Linked DNA regions of Homo sapiens: all the other regions are linked to region 1. Evidence: promoter capture Hi-C in 16 types of primary human blood cells and fetal thymus (Javierre and others, 2016). All regions are on one chromosome and are shown on one strand. The core of a region is centred on a gene start or on the middle of the fragment in contact, and the rest is flanking DNA. Distances in the headings are between cores, read along the strand shown. Region 1 holds the start of ZNF567 (zinc finger protein 567). Region 2 holds the start of ZNF530 (zinc finger protein 530). Region 3 holds the start of ZNF416 (zinc finger protein 416).

Region 1 (3,310 bases), core at 350-2,849:
GGTCTCAGGGCAGGAAAAGGGGAAGAGAAAAAGCTGCAAGACTTCCTGAAGCTTTGTCTCAGAAGTCTCACAATATCACTTCCACCACATTCTATTGGTCAAAGCACCTCACAAGGCCCTGCCTAATAGTAACCTAACCACTGACTAGCATTTCAGGAGGAGAAAAAATACTCCCTTGCTGAAAAACAAAATCAAAGAGAACAAAAATAGAAAATACAACAAAACTTCCTTGACCTTGGTTTTCAGATATGCTCAGCAATGGTTCCCTTTCCTCAGGGCTCTTAGAGAACCTCAAGGCAAGGGAGAAGGGGTAAGGAATCATGAGACATCAGACCTTTCTTGGAACCCAGATTGGCTAAATTGGAAAAAATTATTGCCACCACACGAGCTCTCATCATCTACCATAAACATACTCAGATGGAAGTAAAAGGGAGATGGGAGTACTGCTAACCCTTCTTAGTATTCAAGGGAAAGGCCAGGGTCACTGATATCCAGGACTGGGGACTTTCTCAAAATTCACGTTAAGTCTCCTGCGGAGACAGCTCTGGGAATGATGTGGATCACATGGAACCTGACCTCTGAGAGTTCCCAAGGGAGAGCCTCTGAGGAAGGAATCCTACTCCTAGGTTCTCCCCACGACGTCTTCCCAGAACTCTGCTTAAGGGACACTTACAACTCGAAAAGCCTCGTTCCGAAAACAGGTCTGTCCTTTTTCTGTTTGCAGATTTTATTCCACCACTCGATTATCCCTTCCCTTTTTGATGGCCATTTCACTGCAGCTGGGGTCTATACAGCTATAAAGCGGGAGAAAAAAGGAAGCTGGGAACTCAGAGATGCAGAGCCCAAGAAACAATCGAGTCTAAAACTGCCGCTTAGGTGGGCACTCCGCCAGGATCCCCTGTGTCAAACACCAGGCTGAGAACTGGGGACAGGTGTGCCCTGAGAAGACAACGCGGGCCATGCTTCATTGCAAGATGACTCTGCTTAACATAGGCATGGATCATAGTCCTCACAGGCACATTGGGGAGATCTTCGACAGACCCCTCAGTCCCAACATTAAACACAGCACTGCAGAAATGAAGCTTTACCCGTTACACACACAACACCACAGACCTAAAAGGCTCTTCCATCACACGGCCACAGCAGCACTGTCATGATGGAAGGTCTCAAACCCTACAGTGTCACACACCCGACAGCCGACCACGGCCACCCAAAGGTCCCGCATCCGAGCAGGGACAGGAACACAATCACGCACCTGTCGCAGCCTCCTCGCCGCGCACACCGCCGCCTTGTCCTGGCATCAAACACACACGCACAGGTGCATACACAGGCCCGAGCTACGGCCCTGCACACCCTGTCTGCGTCCCGGGAGCTCGGGGCTTCCTCACCGTGAGCGCCGCCCTCATCCCAGCCACGCACTATGAGAATTTGGAAGGGGAACCAGAGATCAAAGTTCGAAAACCGCCCGGGCGCCTGTGGGAAATGTAGTCCAAGGCCGGAAACGCCCGGATGTGGAGAAGGCGCGCGTAGCCGGTGGACAGCAGGAACGCGCCGCGGAGACACCTGGGAGGCATCGTCCGCGTGGGAGTGCGCATGCGCAGACGCCCGGCCGGCAACCGAAGGTGAGGCTGGTGGGTCCCGCGGGCGCGGAGAAGGCGGGTGACGGTGTGACCCGTAAGGAAGGCTGAGGAGGGAGGCGGGAGCCTGGGCTGGGGAAAGCAAGAAGGGAAGAGGAGCAACCTGGGACGAGGAGTTGGCTGGAGGAAAGTGCGAGTCCGGGCCTCAGAGAAGGCTGGGAGGGAAGCAGGAACCAGAGCGCGGGCCCGGGAGCACCTGAAGAAGGGAACCGGTTGCCCGAGGCGGGGGGTGAGCTCCCCAGTGGCAGGAATTTCGTCTGATTTTCGTCCCCTGGCTCCTGGAGCACGGCCTGGCACACAACAGGCGCTCCGTGTGTGTGTGTGTGGCTTTTCGTACCTGTCCTGTGTGTTGTGGTAGGGGAATGTGTTATTCTGTGTGACGTTGTGGAACCGGTTGTTTATGAAAGTGATAGGGTCCCTGCGTGTCTTAAGTTTTAATTTAAATTAGATGCGAGTCGATTTGTGTTTGAGCCTGTGTCCGACTCTGGAGAGGCGACAGTGAGGGCATTGTGAGTGAAAGGTTGTTACTTTTTGTAGAAGTTCTGTGAAATTGTGCACGACGTGGGGGCCTATGGGATTATGACTATGTAGTGGGTGATACAGCTATGAATATGCCTAATTTTAAAAGTATTTGGTGTACACGACCTATGATGACTGTGAATGTGGCACACTGTGTGACTTAGGTGGAGTGCTTGAGAAACCGAGTGTTGACTAAAGTATGCATTGTTTAGATTGATTTATGAGTATTGGGCATTTTATATATGCCTGTAGAATTTGACTCTGGTAATTAGACAAGTAAAATAAGTAGTGATTTTTTTTTTTTAATGGAGAGGAAGAGGCAAAATAATTTTCAGAGGGTAAGATTGGGCCCATGCGGGCCGGGCGCGGTGGCTCACGCCTGTAATCCCAGCACTTTGGAAGGCTGAGGCGGGCCGATCACGACGTCAGGAGATCGAGAACATCCTGGTTAACATGGTGAAACCCCGTCTCTACTAAAAATACAAAAAATTAACCGGGCGTGGTGGCGGGCGCCTGTAGTCCCAGCTACTTGGGAGGCTGAGTCAGGAGAATGGCGTGAACCCGGGAGGCGGAGCTTGCAGTGAGCCGAGATCGTGCCACTGCAATCCAGCCTGGGTGGCAGAGCAAGACTCCGTCTCAAAAAAAAAAAAAAGATTGGGCCCATGCGCGGTGGCTCACGCCTGCAATCCCAGCACTTTGGGAGGCTGGGGCGGACAGATCACCTGAGGTCAGGAGTTTGACCAGCATGGTGAAACCCCGTCTCTACTAAAAAATATAAAAATTAGCTGGGCATGATGGCGCATGCCTGTAGCCCCAGCTACTCGGGAGCTGAGGCAGGGGAATCGCTTGAACTCGGAGGTGGAAGTTGCAGTGAGCCAAGATCGCGCCACTGCACTCCAGCCTGGGCGACAGAACGAGACTCCGTCCCTTCCCTTCCAAAAAAGATCATTTATTGGGAAACCTGGTATTGACTGATGACTGATATGCTTAAATGAATAGAATACCACTGGGACCACACAGAAAAAAACTTTATCTCATAACTGCCACTCTCAAAATTCCTATTTGAGAGTGTGTGTGTGTGTGTGTGTGTGTGTGTGTGTGTGTGTATTTATTTTTTTTTTTGCTGGATGAATTTCTTCTGCTGGAAGCCTGAA
Region 2 (3,310 bases), core at 382-2,881, about 21 Mb after region 1:
CCACCACACCCAGCTAATTTTTGTATTTTTAGTAGAGACAGGGCTTCACCATGTTGGCCAGGCTGGTCTTGATCTCTTGACCTCATGAGCCACCTGCCTTGGCCTCCTAAAGTGCTGGGATTACAGGCATGAGCCACCGCGCTTGGCCTAGCCACAAGATTATTAATAGTTGTGACGTATAATGTTTTGTGTCGACTTGCCTGCATTAAGGGCTACCCAAATAGTTGGGAAAACCTTAGTACAGGATATGTCTGTGAGAATGTTTATGGAAGATATTAGCAGTTGAGTCTGTAGACAATGTAAAGGAGATCTGGCCTCATCAGTGTTAGGGGCCAACATCCAATGCTTTGAGAGCCAAGATAGAACAAAAAGGCAGAGAAAGAGCAAGTTACTCTCTTCTTGCCCTGGATCATCCACCTTCTGTTTTCCAACATTAAAGTTCTTGGATCTTGGGCCTTTGGACTCTGGAACATACAAGAATGACCCTCACCCAGTTCTCAGGCCTTCAGCCTCCAACTGGGAATTTCACCATAGGCTCCCTTGGTTTTCAGGCCTTCAGATGCAGACTGAATGATACCACCCACCTTCGTGTCTTACCAGGTTGCAAAAGGTATATCCTGGGACTTCTTAGCCTCCATAACTGGATGAGCCAAGTCCCATAATAAATCCCCTCTTGTACATCTATGTATCCTATTGGTTCTGTGTTTCTCTGGAGAATCCTGACTAATACAATAGGTTTCAGTAATTTTCATTTCACAACTGTTTTTCTAAGATGATCTCAACTCCCCATGCAAGCACTGTCCCTGCAGTAACAGTATCAATGATCAAAATTTCCCATCAAAGAGATGAAAGCTAGGTGTCCCAAACCTTTATTCTGGTATTCTGATGTCCCCTTTGCACAAGTGCTCTGACTGTGAACACTACAGACACTGTTCTACTTTAAAATGGCATATGCTAAGTGGCTCTTCTGTTTAGAAAGTTGCTACAATCCTAAAAGAAGCATATCTAAGAATATGGAGGAAGAAATATTATATGAATACAACACTGTTCCTTACAGGGCTAGACACACTCACCGATTACACAGGCAGGAGAGGCATTTTCTGTGAGACAAAATTCCTCTTTCGTCCTCCAGCTTCGGTGCGATCTAACGGATGTTTTATCATTCCTGTCATGGCGCTATGTAAACTCTATTTCCCTTATTCCTTACTGAGCATAATGAAACTCACAAAGCTGACTCTAACGTTCTACTTTACATAAATGTGTGGAGAAAGAAGGTAATGTTTACTAGGCTCTCGCCAAGGGTAGAGGCATTTTGTATCTGAATAACTCTGACTACCTAGGTGACTAGTTGTACACAATACCCTCCAAAAATCTCTGTATGGTACCTTAAAAAAGCAGCGAAGCTCCTCCCTTGTCCAAGGAGGCTGGAGACACCACCTCTCAGCCTTCCCCTCCACCTTTCTCCATAGCAACGGGGTCATTCCTCCCTGAGGTCCAGGAGAAGGGCGACCTCTGCCAGCCCAAGAAGCGGTGAGAACTACATTACCCAGAGGCCCGTGAGCCAGGTTCTTGGCGTGGAGCCAATGAGGCTCAGGGGAGGGACATTTCCGCTCTGTCCAACTTGTCGGAGCGGAACTTCCGGCGTCCTCCCTGTGGCGGGCACTTTGGCTTGTGTCAGTTCCATCCGCGGGTGCCGGATCTGGACCTAGGTGCTGACAGCGAGAAGGCGCGAGGAGAGTCGTTTTCTCAGCTGCACAGCCGGGGCCTGACGGTCGCCGGCGGTGGTGACAGCTTTGCTCTTGTCTCCGCCCGGATCGTCCACCGCTCCCGGCCCGCTCCGCCCAGAGTCCGATGGCGGCGGCACTGAGGGCCCCGACCCAGGTGAGCGCTGCGTCCTCCCGGCCTCCTCTGCCCTCCCCACCCGAAACTGAGGGACGCGTGAAGGGTTTTCTGCAGCCCGGACCGCACTGTCCGGCACAGTGAGGCGCTGGTGCTGGATCTCGTTTCTGGTAGTGTGGCAGGGAGCGGGAGAGCGACACGGTCAGGGGGCTGCGCGGGCAACAGCTTGGAGCTGCGCCTGAGCCGGGAGGCTGGGGAGACCCAGGCCGGCCTCACGCGTGCAGGTAGCAGAGGGTGGGGCAGCGCCGCGCTGCATTGGCCCCACTGAGTTTCACCAGCACACTGAGGGCCACAGCGCGTAGGACAGAAGAGGGGCACGGCCCCAGTCACGCTTCTAAAAGTTTCACAAAAGCTGTTCAGAGGAACGCGCTGGAAGGGCAGTGATGATAGCAGGCATGGAGGGACCTAGTCTTTTTACGAGGTCACAAAGCTGGTAAAAGTCAGCACCAAGGACTGACACCCAGATACAAAGCAGTCATCCCTGGACACCTGGCTCTGGTGTTCCACATTGGAACCAGAAGTCCATGGAGCCACACTTTGGTCACCTGCCTCTCAGAACATGTTTCCTCCCACAGATTGCCACTAGTACTTACAGGTCCGTAAGAAGCACTTGAAGACCCTACAAGGGTAAGTGGAGGAAATCCAGAAGCTCATTGATTCCAGCAATGGGATCTCTAGGATTGGGACTGTGGTGACCTGGGATTCTTTACTTACCGCTTTTCCAGGCCTTGAGCCTAGGGACTCTGAACAAAAATATGTCCAGGGTGAGTATTATATGAGGTGGTGCCTGTTGCTGGCAAATAATAGGATGAATGTGGAAGTTTGTCCCAGAGATAAGTACAGGTGTTTGGAGCTGCTTGGAGGTGAGGCTGAGCTGGTTAAGAGAACCTCAAGTCTCATTTCCTTCTCATGGGAACAGAGAGCAGAGGTACAGGAGTTAGAAACTAAATGGCTGTCTCAGATGTCTTTGTTCTGGAGATGATGGCAGCAATGAAGATTTGGAGCAGAAGAGGGAGGTGATCTTCCCCAGGCCTCATGAGGCTCCTGTGGCTGAGCACAGACAACAGACTGTGGGTTTAAGGGAGTTGGTAGCAATACCAAAGAGGAAAGAGGAGACTACTGCAATAGTCCAGGTGAGTGTAGATGATGTGGGCCAGAGTAGTGGCCACAGTGTGGCAGAAATGGTTGAATTTTGGATTGTAGGTCGGCTCTGATTTTCTGGTATTGGGACTGAGAGATAAGAAGGGGTGACTCAAGGCTTTTTGAGTTTAGTAGCTGGAAGCATAGAAGCTCCATCTACTGGGAGAGCCAAGTAGATAGTAGAATTGTTTTTCACTCAGGACATCAGGAATGTGTTTTGTCCATGTTAAAAATATGAGATGTTTTAGAGAATAAGTAAGTAGCTATATCA
Region 3 (3,310 bases), core at 309-2,808, about 21 Mb after region 1:
CCCGGGGCGGGAACCCAGGCACGGCTGCCACCAGCGCCAGCGACCCACCGGCTGATGCGCAGCGGGGCGACCCCCGCTCTGTGCCGGAGGCAGCGTTTCTAACTCAGGCGGCGTGGGCCGAGGTAGAGAACCACCAAAATTACCATCTCGGAGCGGTGCCGGAAGTCCCGCCTTACCGTATGCAACAAACGGAGACAGGTCCGTTCCTGAACGTTGATTGGCTCCGCGTCTTTGCAGCTTGGCGCTCGGCATTATGGGTAATGTAGTTCTCAGAAGCCCAGGGTTCCGGTGCCCTCCCTGAGATTCACCCGGAACAAGGGCTAAGCGGCCCGCGGAGGGCGCTAGGAAAAGGCGCGACACCAAGAGCGAGACAGGGACTTGCTGCTCCTTAAAGGGGCCGCTGGCCGATTTCCGCAGTCCCATACCCACTGAAGGGAGTGTCTGGGTTAAGATAAGAGGTTGTAGAGACCAAGGTTCTTATTAAGCAGATGAAGCTTTCACGCAGCAGGCTTCAGAGGGAATAGATTGTAAATGTTTCCTATCAGACTTTGAAAGGTGCCAGACTCTTAATTCTTTCCTGGACCATGAAAATAAAAAAACCCTGGAGAGGAAAGGGGATTCTCAGCAAAATGCAGATTCCACAAGACACACCTTTGCAGGGCCTCTTCAAAATATGTCAAATAAATAAAGTTTAGAGTAAAATACTTCAATTCCTTTCAGGGCCTGCTATCTGTCATGTAATGCTATACTACAATCAGGCTGGAATTCACTGTCTTATTGCTACAAGAAGTCTTAAAATCTCTGTTTTAATGTTAATGCTGGTCAGTTGTGCCTGAATTCCAAGGGGAGGAGGGCAAGTCTGACCCTCACTTCCCATCACGTCCTGAACTAGTTTTTCAGATTAACTTTGGAATGCCCTTGGCCAAGAGGAAGGATGCATTCAGATGGTTGGGGGGCTGGGAATTTTATTTTTGGTTTACACTTCTCATGCCTCTTGGAATCTCTGAACCACATACAACGGCCATTTGTTGAGTAAAAGCTTCCAATGCAGGAAACTGTCTCTTTCAGCCTCATGCTATACACCATTAAAACAGTAATTACTGGCAATAAGACTGGGCTTTCTTAAACATACAGGATCTCACAGACCATAAGCCTATGATCCTTCATACCAGCTGCCCATAATACTTTTGGTTTTGGAAGCAGCACCCCATAACCTCAGCATGGCTACCAAGGCCTCCTTAAGACAGGGTAGAATGAATAAGATCTAGTATTTGATAGCACAGTAGAGAGACTACAGTCAACAGTAATTTATTGTACATTAAAAACAACTAAAAGAGTATTATAACTAGAATGTTTGTAACACAAAGAAATGATAAATGCTTGTGTACCCTGATATGATTATTACACATTGTATGCCTGTATCACAATATCTCACGTATCCCATAAATATACATACATACTATGTACTCATAAAACTAAAAATTTTAAAAGACAGATAAATGGCAAGCAGGTAGATGAAAACATGCTTAACATCATTGATCACTATAAAAATGCAAATCAAAACTACAATGAGATATCATCTCACTCTAGTTAAAATGACTTTTATGCAAAAGACAGGGAATAATGAATGCTGGCCAGGACAGAGAGGAAAGGGAAACTTCATACGCTGTTGGTGGGAGTGTAAATTAGTAAAGCCACTATGGGGAACAGTTTGGAGGTTCCCCACAGAAGTAAAAATAGAATTACCATATGATACAGTTTACACCACCCAGAAAAGAAATCAGTATATCTAATAGAGATCTGCACTCCCATGTTTATTGCATCACTATTCACAACAGCCAAGATTTGGAAGCTACCTAACTGTCCATAGATAAATGGATAAAGAAAATGTGATGCATATACACAATGGAGTAGTATTTAGCCATAAAAAAAGAATGAGATCCCATCAATTGCAAGAAGACGGGTGAAATTGGAGGAAATTATGTTAAGTAAAATAAGCCAGGCACAGAAAGACAAACTTCACATGTTCTCACTTATTTGTGGGAGCTAAAAATTTAAACAATTGAACTCCCGGAGATTAAGCTTAGAAGGATGGCTACCAGAGGCTGAGAAGGATAGCAGAAATGGAAGGGAAAGTGGGGATAGTTAATGGGTGCAAAAATATAGTCAGATAGAAGGAATAAGACATAGTATTTGATAGCACAACAAGGTGACTACAGTCAACAACAATCTATTGTAGAATTAAACATAACTCACCGGGCATGGTGGCTCACGCCTGTAATCCCAGCACTTTGGGAGGCCGAGGCGGGCAGATCACAAGGTCAGGAGATCGAGACCATCCTGACTAACACGGTGAAACCCCATCTCTAAAATCAAATCTCTATAATAAATCTCTAAAAATACAAAAAATTAGCCGGGCGTGGTGGTGGTCACCTGTAGTCCCAGCTACTAAGGAGGCTGAGGCAGGAGAATGGCGTTAACCCGGGAGGCGTTGCTTGCAGAGAGCTGAGATCGCGCCACTGCACTCCAGCCTGGGCAACAGAGCAAGACTTCGTCTCAAAAAAAAAAAAAAAAAAAAAGAATTAAACGTGACTAAGAGTATAACTGGAATGCTTATAACACAAAGAAATGATAAATGCTTGAGGTGATGAATACCATTTATCCCAATGTGATTATTACACACTGTGTGCCTGTATCAAACTACACCATATAACTCATAAATATATACACCTACTATGTACCCCTAAAGACTAAAGATAAGAAATCAAAAAAATAAAGACAGGATGGAGCTAAACCTGGGCCCTCTGGAATGTTCTACCTGCAGATGGAGCTGGCCTCCACTATCTTCAGTCCCTTGCTAGATGTCATGGTCCTTGAGGTCAACACTCCCCACACCTGCGGAATCCCTTGGGATTAACTGGGTGAACAGTAATCGAAGTTAGTGGACTATATGAATGACGCTGCCAAGCTATACTTGAATAGCTGTGCCAAATAGACAAACACAGAAAGAAAACACAAAACAACCCATCCACATCCTAAGGGCTTCACACTTTCTTGCACTCTATCTTCAATGTTTTTTCAGCTTTCTCTTTAGGTACTTATTGACTGTTGGTCTCACATAAGTTTAGCCATAGATGGAATTTATTACTGCTTTGTGACCACTGGCAGCCTCCCTCATCTCTGGCTGGGCTTCTCCCTGAAGGACTGGGCCTCAGGAGTAGGTGGGTCATTTGTCCCCTGGGCATGCCACACAGAGCAGGTTTTCCGAACTAGGCTATCCCTCCTCCCCAAGTTATCCAGGCAATTCCGC

The links. The method cuts DNA at HindIII sites, captures the fragments that hold promoters and counts their contacts. A CHiCAGO score of 5 or more calls a contact.
Region 2: a contact is called between the fragment with the promoter of ZNF530 here and the fragment with the promoter of ZNF567 in region 1, in 1 of 17 cell types (non-activated CD4 T cells). The highest score is 7.7, in non-activated CD4 T cells.
Region 3: a fragment that was not itself captured here is called in contact with the fragment with the promoter of ZNF567 in region 1 in 2 of 17 cell types (non-activated CD4 T cells and activated CD4 T cells); the score reaches 11.2 in non-activated CD4 T cells.

Annotation. Positions count from the first base shown.
Region 1 is chr19:36,686,013-36,689,322 of GRCh38, forward strand. ZNF567 (zinc finger protein 567) reads left to right here and starts at 1,600. Exons shown (of 6, transcript NM_001322917.1): 1 at 1,600-1,622. ZNF567-DT (ZNF567 divergent transcript) reads right to left here and starts at 1,437. Exons shown (of 4, transcript NR_110708.1): 1 at 1,256-1,437; 2 at 674-794; 3 at 1-3. RefSeq lists enhancers at 1,407-1,456, 2,017-2,656 and a silencer at 1,657-1,716. The HindIII fragment of the contact is 4,431 bases long and covers 1,081-3,310 here.
Region 2 is chr19:57,598,254-57,601,563 of GRCh38, forward strand. It overlaps ZNF530 (zinc finger protein 530), which reads left to right and starts at 1,632. Exons shown (of 4, transcript NM_001321981.2): 1 at 1,632-1,881; 2 at 2,475-2,526. RefSeq lists enhancers at 1,680-1,889, 1,980-2,099. The HindIII fragment of the contact is 5,329 bases long and covers 1-3,310 here.
Region 3 is chr19:57,578,743-57,582,052 of GRCh38, forward strand. ZNF416 (zinc finger protein 416) reads right to left here and starts at 169. Exons shown (of 4, transcript NM_017879.3): 1 at 1-169. RefSeq lists a silencer at 1-78. The HindIII fragment of the contact is 1,043 bases long and covers 1,038-2,080 here.